Regions from separate parts of the Homo sapiens genome. Here all the other regions are linked to region 1. The links are contacts of gene promoters, found by promoter capture Hi-C in blood cells and fetal thymus (Javierre and others, 2016). All regions are on one chromosome and are shown on one strand. The core of a region is centred on a gene start or on the middle of the fragment in contact, and the rest is flanking DNA. Distances in the headings are between cores, read along the strand shown.

Region 1 (3,485 bases), core at 266-2,765:
TATTCTGTTACCTACAAGATCTCTGTTGTTCAAGCCCTGTACAGTCCACTTCCACCCTCTCATCTTCACCAAAAGAAGTTTCATGTAACAATATGTACTCTTGTACATATGTATCTATATAAGATATGTATCTATATAAGATAGTTCCATTTATTTTCTATTTAAATCTGGTCTAGTCTATTTCATTCCTGTAAAATGCTGTCTCTACCCTTTGAATCGATGTCATGGCCTATTAGTGGATCCTGATCCTTAATTTTAAAGACAATGCAGTAAATCAATCTCAGGTTTTTGTTGGTGCGGGGACCTGACTTATGGTGAATGTGAATAACATCACAGTTGTTCATTTTTGGTGATCTCATGTTTGGTCCCACTCTTCCACAGCTTTCTCTAGGGTCCCTCCTTCGCTTTCCAGATTTTAAACTCTCCTCAGATTACTTAACAGTCTCCAGATCCTAATTTTTTATTCCAACAAAAAGAAAATCAATTTGCAAAATATAATACCAATTTATTAATTCACTGAGATTTTTAATGAACCAATAGGGTTGTTTCAATCACCTCCTACTAAGATTTAAGAAAATGAAAATATGACTACAGGGTTGCATGGTAAACACAGAAACCAAAAAACACGTAGTGATGGTCTATAGTGGCTTAGTCGCCTTTCTCCTGTACAACTGAATAATCTACTTTTGTCCTCAAAGATCAATTCCTGCCCTCCCAGTATTGAAGAGCACTAACAAAATTGGTACTCTTCAGCCCTCCTTTTCTTGAAACCCAGACGGGGGGTAGGAAGATGGGGTGGTGTTAATTTAATCCTAACACCTGAAATTACTTCCCGGGCTTGCCGTAATTTTCTCAAATACAATTATGTGACGGTATCAAGATCACTTTCATCCATCAGAAAGGAGATAATAGTTTTAGGTTGGATTTTGTAAATATTCAGCAACATGAACACAACACCTTTTCTTATTCAGTGTGCGATTTTACTTTTGGCCCTTATTCTAGGGTGGGCCAAAGAACCAAGCAAAGAAGGCTCCGCTTCCACCTTTATTCCTATCACATACTACCTGGAAACACTCAGCCTTTTCTGGATAGGCCCAAGGTGGTTATTCACAAACCTCGGGTCTTTTGATCACTTTCTGGGATCTTAACAGTTGTGGAGATTATACTGAATGATCCCAAGTCCAGTCTGACATAACAAAAAATGTCCACCTTTCAGCTGGGTGGGCGCGGGGGAAGAAGGAAGAGCTTAGAATTTAAGTCCAAAGATGTGGAAACACCAGGCTCTTCCCCGTCCAGGCAGCTCATCAGAGCCTCGTTAGCTGCCTTAAAAGCCCATTTTATTTCCGCAGCGGGCCCGCTGGTGAAGGCAGAAGGCTCAGTCCGTCCGCCTCCACCTGCTGCCACGGCAGCGCGAACCGACCCCACGCAGCGATGGCCACGAGCTGCCCAAGACCGGCTCGCCGCGCCCAGGCCCGCGTTGGTCGCCCCTCCGGGCCCCAGCGCCGGGTGCTCCGCCTCCCAAGGCCGGCGGCGGCATGGCGGCCAGGCAGATCTGGGCACGGACGGGTGCCGCGCTCTGCAGGCAACCTTCCGCCGCCCCGCCGCCAGCACCTCTCTGGGTAAGAGCTGGGTTCCGACAGCAGCTCAGCTTAACCCTCTGCCCTGCTAACGAGGGAAACTGCGGCGGCTCCGCGCCCAGCACGCCCGGTAGGCCGGAGAGAGCGGCGAGGCCTTCGGTGAGCGAAGAGTTAACCGCGGCGGAGCGACAGATCGCGGAGCTGCACGCTGCCGCCTGCGCGGTGAGACTCCCTCCTGCCCGCCCCGCCCCGCCGCGGCCGCCCCGGGCTCGGCGCGCCTGCGCATCCCGGGCCTCTCCGGACCCGGAGGCCGCCCGGCAGAGGCAAAGGTTGCTGGATACCGGTGCGGTCCTGCCTCGGGCGACATTCGCGCACGCACACGAACTTCCAGCCCCGACATTTTCGCGGGAAACCTGTGTCTGTCTTGAGTATGAGTGTGATTTGTTTTCCGATCAGCGTCCGAGCTAAACTCCGGTCGCAGTGTGGGACCCACTACCACTCTTTTGTGGTGTATGTGTGTGTGTGTTGCGGAAGGGGGTGTTAAGGAATTGATGGAGAAGGTGGAGGGACTGAGAAGTCACAACAAAAATGTGTTGTGTGTTTTTCTGCATTGTCAGTTGAACACTTAGCAATCCAGTGATTCTTAGAGTGAGAAAAAAAGACATTGACACATTTATTTTAATTTTTCCATTGCCTTCTTGTCCTTTCTCTTAACTCTTAACGGAGCAGAGGGAACTACAATCTGGCATTTGTAGACACTCAGCTGTTTTCTCCTGTTTTGCGGATTTGACAATTGTCTGTTAGTACCAGTATCTAAACTTCTCTCCCTTTACGCCTTCTAACACAGTCTGCGTGAGTTTAAAGGCAGCATGGTTACCTTTACAAAAGAAACAGTGAGAAAAAAAGAGAAACTGACTATAATAAAGATAGAAAAGCAGTATGAAATGAACCCATTTAATAAGCTATGTGTGTGTGCCTCCAGTACTTGATGGGACTAATATTATATGGTATGACTTGAGCCAAAGGGGTAGAGAAGAAAATCCCGGAGGTTGCCTAAAATTGACTTATTTAAATAATGACAGTTAGTAGGCCCTGAGAATCCACTGTCGGTCTGACCCATTCAAGTGCTGAAACTGAATAAAGACTCATTAGGAAGTGACTGGCAGCTTTTGATTGTTCTTGTTTATGCTCTCCTTTTAAAAATAATGTATATAATTTGTTCTCATACTTCGCAATATAGATATGGTGGATATTAAAGAAAAGTGTCATTCTCCTTAGAGCAAACACCAGTATCATGTGAAGAAATTTTCAATCAGTCTAGGGAAGGAAAGGAACTTTTTCTCACTCGGGAAATTCACATTTGTTTCATCAGTGTCAGTATCACAGGTTAAATGACTATCCAGGTGACCATAAGTAAGCCCAGTAAATAACAAGCTGCTTGTTTTTCTTTTTCGACAAATCTGAGCCCCCTCACTATGGTCCTTCTTCCAGCCTCAAAGCAGATAGCTCTCTTACCTTTCTCCGGGTACCGATGCGCATCACTGAGCATCTTGCTCTCCAGTCAAACTGTCAGCACCCTTGCTTCATCTTTGTCTGTGGCCACCATTACGTGAGGCTCATTTACTGAGGACAAATTAAGTTTGTGTGGGCAGCCAGCAAGCTCAGAGGTGCTCAATCAACATGGAAAGCTGTAGAGCAGGGGCATGCGCAGGAGCAATCTGTTAGGCTTCCAGGTTGCCAGATAATTGCCCTCAGAAGACTCCCAGAAGCTATGAAAAGTAAAAAGAAGCCTGCTACAGAGTTCCTAGTGTTTTTTTGTTTTTCTTCCAAGTCTCCAAACACGAGCTTCGTAAATAAATAAAGAAGTGAGGCCCTGACAATCGGTCATTCTAAGGTAGTGCTGAGTGC
Region 2 (3,485 bases), core at 339-2,838, 240 kb before region 1:
TGGTCTGTTTCTATCCAACTCTCAAGGAGCTTTAGATAAAGCAAAATGTATTGATTGTAGGTGGCTGCATGTCTACCTGTTAATGCTTACATTGTCATTTTCACCTTATTTAAATAAAGTGAGGCCTTTGGTAACCTTAATTTTTCTTTCATGGTCTACTATAAAAACTATATACATAACAATAATTATGTTATTAGAAAGTGAGATAATGTTTTTCATTCTAGACCAAAAACCCTTAACATTTCTTTCAATGTTCTGGTTTTCTGAACTTTATATTATTGTTTTTCACTGGTTATCTTCCCCTTTTAATTTCCTTTCAAATTGCAAAGGCACATCAGAATCAGATTTTTCATTAAGAAGCTAATTTATACAGATAAATATAATTTATCTGTAAGACTATATCCTTGTCTTTGAATAAATAATTAATATATCCATATTTAAGTTACTTTTAAAAATTTAAACAGTTTTTATTTGTGCTAGGCATTTTGGTATCTACGTAATTATTACTGTTTTTTACATGTCCAAGATAATAAGCTTTATTGAATTTCATCCTGGTACCAGGCTATGACTTCATCTATAAATCAAACTATGACTTCATCTATAAATTAAACTAACACTGTTTAGAAATAAGCTTTACCCTTATGGGATATTTCTCATAGTCATCTCTAAGGCCCCAAAATACTTTATTATTTCTATTTGGGGAGTATAACTCACTAGTTAGTTATACGTCCATCTAGGGGTTGAGAGCAGAATCTAAGAATCATAGAATTTATGTGTTAAAACAATTGGAAGTGCAGGAAGTAAAATTACTTAAGGAGTAACTATATGAATGACAGTACATTGGATACTTATATGTATTATCTCATTTAATTCTTACACTAATGCTTTGATACATACTTGACTAAGATAAAGCAACTTATCTAGGGTCACAAAGCTATGGAATGGCAATCTTGGGATTAGAACCCTAATCAACCTGAGTAATATATGCTCAGGGGTCTACCACAGACAGTCTATCACCCTATCTTGGCGTGTATTTCTATATAGCGAGCCTTTTTTAAAAAATATATACTTTAAGTTCTAGGGTACACGTGCACAATGTGCAGGTTTGTTACATGTGTGTGTATACATGTGCCATGTTGGTGTGCTGCACCCATTAACTTGTCATTTACTTTAAGTATATCTGCTAATGTACAGTGAGCCTTTTAATAAACATGTTCAATGACCAGGCATTTCAGGCAGCTAAATGAACTGAGACAAAAATCATTCTGTTGTAATCTTAAAACAGCCTGCCTATATGTCCTATCCACTGAAGCAAATTCTATCTTCTAAAATTCATTTGTTTATTTAACATTCAGAGCATTACCTTTATGACTTTTAAATTATAGTTTGTTCATAGGGGCAAATTTCCCAACAAATAAAGGTCTATTCAATGTGATTCTTTAAAGTAACATTTTGGTAAACCCTTCCAATTTTAAGTTTGGTATTGCTTCTGTGTTCATCACTGTGGATAAAAATTTTGAAAAGGATATGGCCTGCAAAAGTCTTCAAGATGCCTCCCAAAATAACACCAATTATTTATCAACATTCTAAGTATGAAATTTTAACCTAATCAAAAGACTCATAATTGTATCATCTAACCAACACTTTTCTCTGCACATAATTTGTTTGTGAAATATTAGAACAGACTCAAATTTCAACTACAGCACTCCCTGTTACATCAGTATGTACTATCACCATAATAAACCAAGCCTAGTTATAAACAATGCTCTCTTTGTAAACATGTACTGGCTCTCAGTGATAACTTTCTCCTTTTAAAGAGTACATATCATTCATTTTTTAAATAAAAACATCACATATAAAAGTGGAACTACTCTATAACGTAGCCATTGCTCCTAGAAACGTCAAGAAAGCAAGGACATTTTCTGTTGTAAATAAACAAGCATCTACAGCAAACAGTGCTAACTGGCTATTTGCAGGCTGCTTCTATCCTAAGGGCATATTTTGTTTGGTCAACACTGTACTGTTGTTTAATTAAATAAGTTGCCAACTTCCAAATCTGATATAATTCACTGTAAAAATCCAGACTTCTTGTTTCTCTTAAAAGTCAAAAGAACTGGTAATACTGGCCACACATTTTTCACTGTGCAACAAATTCCTAGGGCTGAGTTGTGGCTTCTGTCTTTGAGTGTGGCATGTACTATTCAGATCACCGTACTTACCCCAACTTCCTATTGTTAGGCACCTAACAGGTTTCTCTCATTTGAGCCCCTTACCTGGTCTACATAGGTAATTGAATTCACAACTCCTGATAAGAAGCAACTGCTCAACAGGAAATCCTACCGACTACTCACTTTCTTATCTGACAAGAAAATGATCCAGGGTATACAAAGTAGTCCAGTAATTCCAATTTTAACTATACTCTAAGTACACTTTAAGTCTAAATATATGGCAAAAACAACATCATTTTTAAAAAGAAAACTTTTGAAACACACACATACACACACACACACACACAGAGAGAGAGATAAAAAATACTGTAAATTATATAAGCTTATGTTGCTAGAGTAAGAAATGTTATTTTCAAGTCTTTATTTTGTGGTTTCTTAGGGAATTTTCAAACGATACATGCTCAAAGCAACTAATTTTAAACTGATTATCAATAAGGTAAAATGTTAAAATGTTTTTCACTAAATTTTACAGTCCCAAAGACAGTCAAAGTCTGTATTCTTACAACAGACCACAAAAATCCTAGGAAGTTAAAAAAAATTACTCGACATATTGTAACAAGTGAATAAGACACTTCACTTGAATTTTTAAAATTGAACAAAGAATAACTGTGACTCTCGCACTCTTGCCAACATATATAAATGTAAAACATTATGAGCAATTATTTTAAAACAAAGTACAGGAGATTAGTTAAAATTTAATTGTAAGATCATTTCCTTAATTTTCTGTAAAGACATAAGGCAAAAGAGAGAGATATACATAAAGTCATGAGTCCATTTTGTGGTAGTAAGAAGACTTCCCCCACACTTCTACTTCCACTATAGAGCTGATAAAACTTTTACATTCAAAAGTCAAAGGTTAAATAAAGGAAAGGAAATGTTTTTTGTCAAATAGTCAGGTAACCACTAAAGTCTAAGCAATCAGCAGGAACCTAACTTATAGTAATCAAATAAAACTAAGGAAACTGCCTTTCCGTAGGAAAACATCTAATGTCTAGAGGCTGTTTTTCTGTCTGGAAAATTGACACAAAATGTGTAAAATTGAAACATTCTGCTTCTAAGGGATTTGCCCAAAGGAAGAGTGTGAAAGCTTTAGGTTTGGAATGAGTTAAAGGGGGGAGGGGGAACTACAAAGGCCCTAAACATAAATCTGTCTTCCTTATTGGAGTATTTCATTTTGAACCCTTGGCGACAATTTTATAGTTATAAAATTATGTTAATCAAATTAGGTTAAAAAGTTATTTCTTGCATTTTTGCTAG
Region 3 (3,485 bases), core at 708-3,207, 210 kb before region 1:
AGAAGGCGAGGGAGGAACAAAGTCATGTCTTACATGGCAGCAGGCAAAGAGAGAAAGAGAATAAAGTGAAAGGAGAACCTGTTATAAAACCATCAAATCTCGTGAGACTTACTCACTACCATGAACACAGTATGGGGGAGACTGCCCCCACAATTCAATTATCTCTCACCAGGTCCCTCCCACAACATGTGGGAATTATGGGAGGTACAACTCAAGATGAGATTTGGGTGGAGACACAGAGACAAATCATGTCAATATCAAATTGACTGTGCTATCCTTACTGTTGCTGCTGGTGCTGATGAATCTGAACTTGGTATCTCCAAGAATGAGCAGACTCATGAGCATATCCCTCTGGCTTCCACATTGATTGTAAAACAACCAACTGTTCATGTTAACAAAACAGATTCCACCGAGTCACCCTACAGCCAGAAGAGATATGAGAAAATCATTAAGGAAATCAGCACCCATATTAAGAAAACTGGCTACGGACCTGCTACAGTAGCATTTGTGCCAATTTCTTTTTTATTTTAATCCATCCTTTATTAATTCAACAAAACTTAAGGAGTCTATTACCTACCAGGCACTATGCTTGGCACTGAGGTGCAGCAGTGAACAAGAAACAGTCCCTGCCATCAATGTTAGAATGGTGACAATATGCTGGAGTCAAGTGCTAACATACCTTGGCTCAAGAGATGGAAAGACACCTGTAAAGATGGCGATACCAGTGAAACCATGCTGCTTAAAGCTCTGAATTGCATCCTACCATCAATTCATTCAGTTGACAAGCTCTTGTGTCTGCCCCTACCTGATGTCTACAAATTGGTGATATTGGCATTGTCCCTTTGGGGCTAGTGGAGACTGCTATTCTCAAACCCAGCATGTGGTCTACTTTTGCACCAGTTAACACTACAACTGAAGTAGAGTCTGTTGAAATGCACCAAAAAGCTTTGAGTGAAGCTCTTCCTAAGGATAATGTGGGCTTCGATGTCAAGAATGTGTCTGTCAAAGATACTCGTCATGGCAATGTTGCTGGTGACAGCAAAAATGACTCACCAATGGAAGCAGCTGACTGCACTGCTCACATGATTATCTTGAGCCAACCAGGCCAAATAGGTTCTGGTTATCCTCCTATACTTGACTGTCACACAGCTTATGTTGCTTGCAAGTTTGCTTGATTGAAGCAAGATTGATTGCCACTCTGGTAAGAAGCTGGAAGGTGACCCTAAATTCTTGAAATCTAGTGATGCTGCCATCGTTCAGATGGTTGCTGGAGTGTTGAGAGCTTCTCTGACCATCTCCCTCTTGGTCATTTTACTGTTCATAATATGAGACAGACAGTTGCTGTGGGTGTCTTCAAAGCAGTGGACAAGAGGGCTGCTAGAGTTGGGAAGGTCAGCAAGTCTGCCTGGAAAGTTCAGGAGGCTAAATGAATATTATCCCTAATACCTGCACCCTAGTTTTATTCAGTGGTTGAAGAACAGTCCCAGAAGTATTTGCCTGAATAGGCCATTTTAAGTTTAATAGTAAAAAACTGATTAATGATAGCAATGCATTATAAAACCTTCCGAAGGAAAGGAGAACATTTTATGGAACATTTTTGGGTTTTTTTTGTGTGAGAGTTCTTAAGTTGTTAGTCTTTAAAATAATTACTTCTTAATGGAAATAACCTGACCAAAAAAAAATCTGTCATAGAACTTTGAAACCCATTAAAATATATTTTAATGAAAAAAATAGACTTAAACATAAGACGTGAAAAGTGTAAAGCTCTTAGAAGAAAACATGGAAAAACTTTCATGACATTGGTCTTCGCAATAATTTCTTGGCTACAACACCAATCATGGATATATGATACGGATGTTTATAAACATATGCACAGGCAACTAAGGCAAAAATAGACAAGTGGAATTACATCAAACTAAAAATCTTCTGCACCTCAAAGAAAACATCCTGAAGAGTGAAAGGCAACCTATAACATCTAAGAAAATATTTGCAAACCATACATATGATAAAGGGTTACTATCCAAAGCATATAAGGAACTCCTATAACTTAACAGCAAAAAAAAAAAAAAAGACCTGATCAAAAATTGATCAAAGGACTTAAACAGACATTTCTCCAAAGAAGTCATACGAATGGCTAAGAGTTATATGAAAACATGCTCAACATCACTAATTATGAAGGAAATGCAAATCACAGTTGGATATCATTTCACACCTGTGAGAATGCCCATTATCAACAACCAAATAAACAAACAAACAAAGATAAGTGTTGGAGAGAGTGTAGAAAATTGGCACCCTTGTATACTGTTGGTGGGAATATCAAATGCTACAGCAGCTATGGAAAACAGTTTCCCAAAAAATTAAAAATAGAACTACCACATGATCCAGCATTCCCACTCCTGGGTATTTATCCAAAATAACTGAAATCAGGATCATAAAGGGATATTTGCTCTTCCATGTTCTCTGTAGCATTACTCAGAATAGCAAAGATGTGGAAACATCCTACATGTCCATCAACAGATGAATGGATAGTGAAAATGTGTTATATACATACAATGGAAAATTACTCAGCCTTAAAAAAAGAAAGAAAATCCTGTCATTTGCCACAACATGAATGAATCTGGAGAACATTACACTAAGTGAAATAAGCCAGTCTCAAAAAGACAAATACTGCATGATTCCACTTAAATGAGACATCAAAAATAGTCAAACTCACAGAAGCAGAAAGTAGAATGCTGGTTGCCAGCCAGGGTCCGTGAGTAGAGAGAAATGGCAAGTTGCTGTTCAACAGGTACAAAGTTCAGTTATATAACATGAATAAGTTCTAGAGGTCTGATATACAACACTGTGCTTATAGTTAACAATACTGTACCATAAACTTAACAATTTGTTTATAGAGTAGATCTCATGTATCTGTGCCTCCACAATAAAAAAAAAAAAATCTCAAATCCATTCCCTTTCCCACTTTCTCTTTAAGCTTTCTCTAGTTGAGGTTCTCAACAGTTCTACTAAACAATTACCGTAGCCTTCTAACTAGTCTCTATGTCTCCAACAGGCTCCTTTTATCCAATTCAAAGCACCTAAATCTAAAGTTACCTCTTTAAAATATAGATGTGATGTGGAAGCCTCCTAAATATATACCATTTTATGGTTATTTCCTATTAGTCAATGCCAAAGCAGTTAGCATAGTATACAAAGTTCTTCATAATCTGACCAAACTACCTTTGTAGCCTCAGTATCAAGTTCCATAAATCCCACACTCCAACCACATGAAATTAGCAGTTATTTGAACAAGTTCTTGTGCTTAATTTAATATTTTGTTACTTCTTCCATTCCCTATGGCTCAAATTGGAGTTATCTGATGTTAATCTTCCTCCTTAATGCCCCATATCCTATAAATAATAACTCCACAGACAATCATGTAAAACTTCAGACTATTACAATTTGCAATGCAAAACATATTAAATAATCCTAGCTGGTTATATCAA

Evidence for each region. Contacts are between HindIII fragments. The CHiCAGO score rates a contact against its expected background, and 5 or more counts as called.
Region 2: a contact is called between a fragment that was not itself captured here and the fragment with the promoter of C1orf53 in region 1, in 1 of 17 cell types (M1 macrophages). The highest score is 6.0, in M1 macrophages.
Region 3: a fragment that was not itself captured here is called in contact with the fragment with the promoter of C1orf53 in region 1 in 2 of 17 cell types (M1 macrophages and M0 macrophages); the score reaches 6.5 in M1 macrophages.

Annotation. Positions count from the first base shown.
Region 1 is chr1:197,901,115-197,904,599 of GRCh38, forward strand. It overlaps C1orf53 (chromosome 1 open reading frame 53), which reads left to right and starts at 1,516. Exons shown (of 3, transcript NM_001024594.3): 1 at 1,516-1,799. The coding sequence starts at 1,536. RefSeq lists silencers at 1,401-1,550, 1,721-1,970. The HindIII fragment of the contact is 7,446 bases long and covers 1-3,485 here.
Region 2 is chr1:197,661,515-197,664,999 of GRCh38, forward strand. The region is part of intron 5 of DENND1B (DENN domain containing 1B); the gene reads right to left. Among named protein-coding and RNA genes, the nearest start is that of DENND1B, 110 kb to the right of the region's middle. The HindIII fragment of the contact is 1,919 bases long and covers 630-2,548 here.
Region 3 is chr1:197,689,206-197,692,690 of GRCh38, forward strand. The region is part of intron 3 of DENND1B (DENN domain containing 1B); the gene reads right to left. It also overlaps the pseudogene EEF1A1P32. Among named protein-coding and RNA genes, the nearest start is that of DENND1B, 85 kb to the right of the region's middle. The HindIII fragment of the contact is 2,029 bases long and covers 944-2,972 here.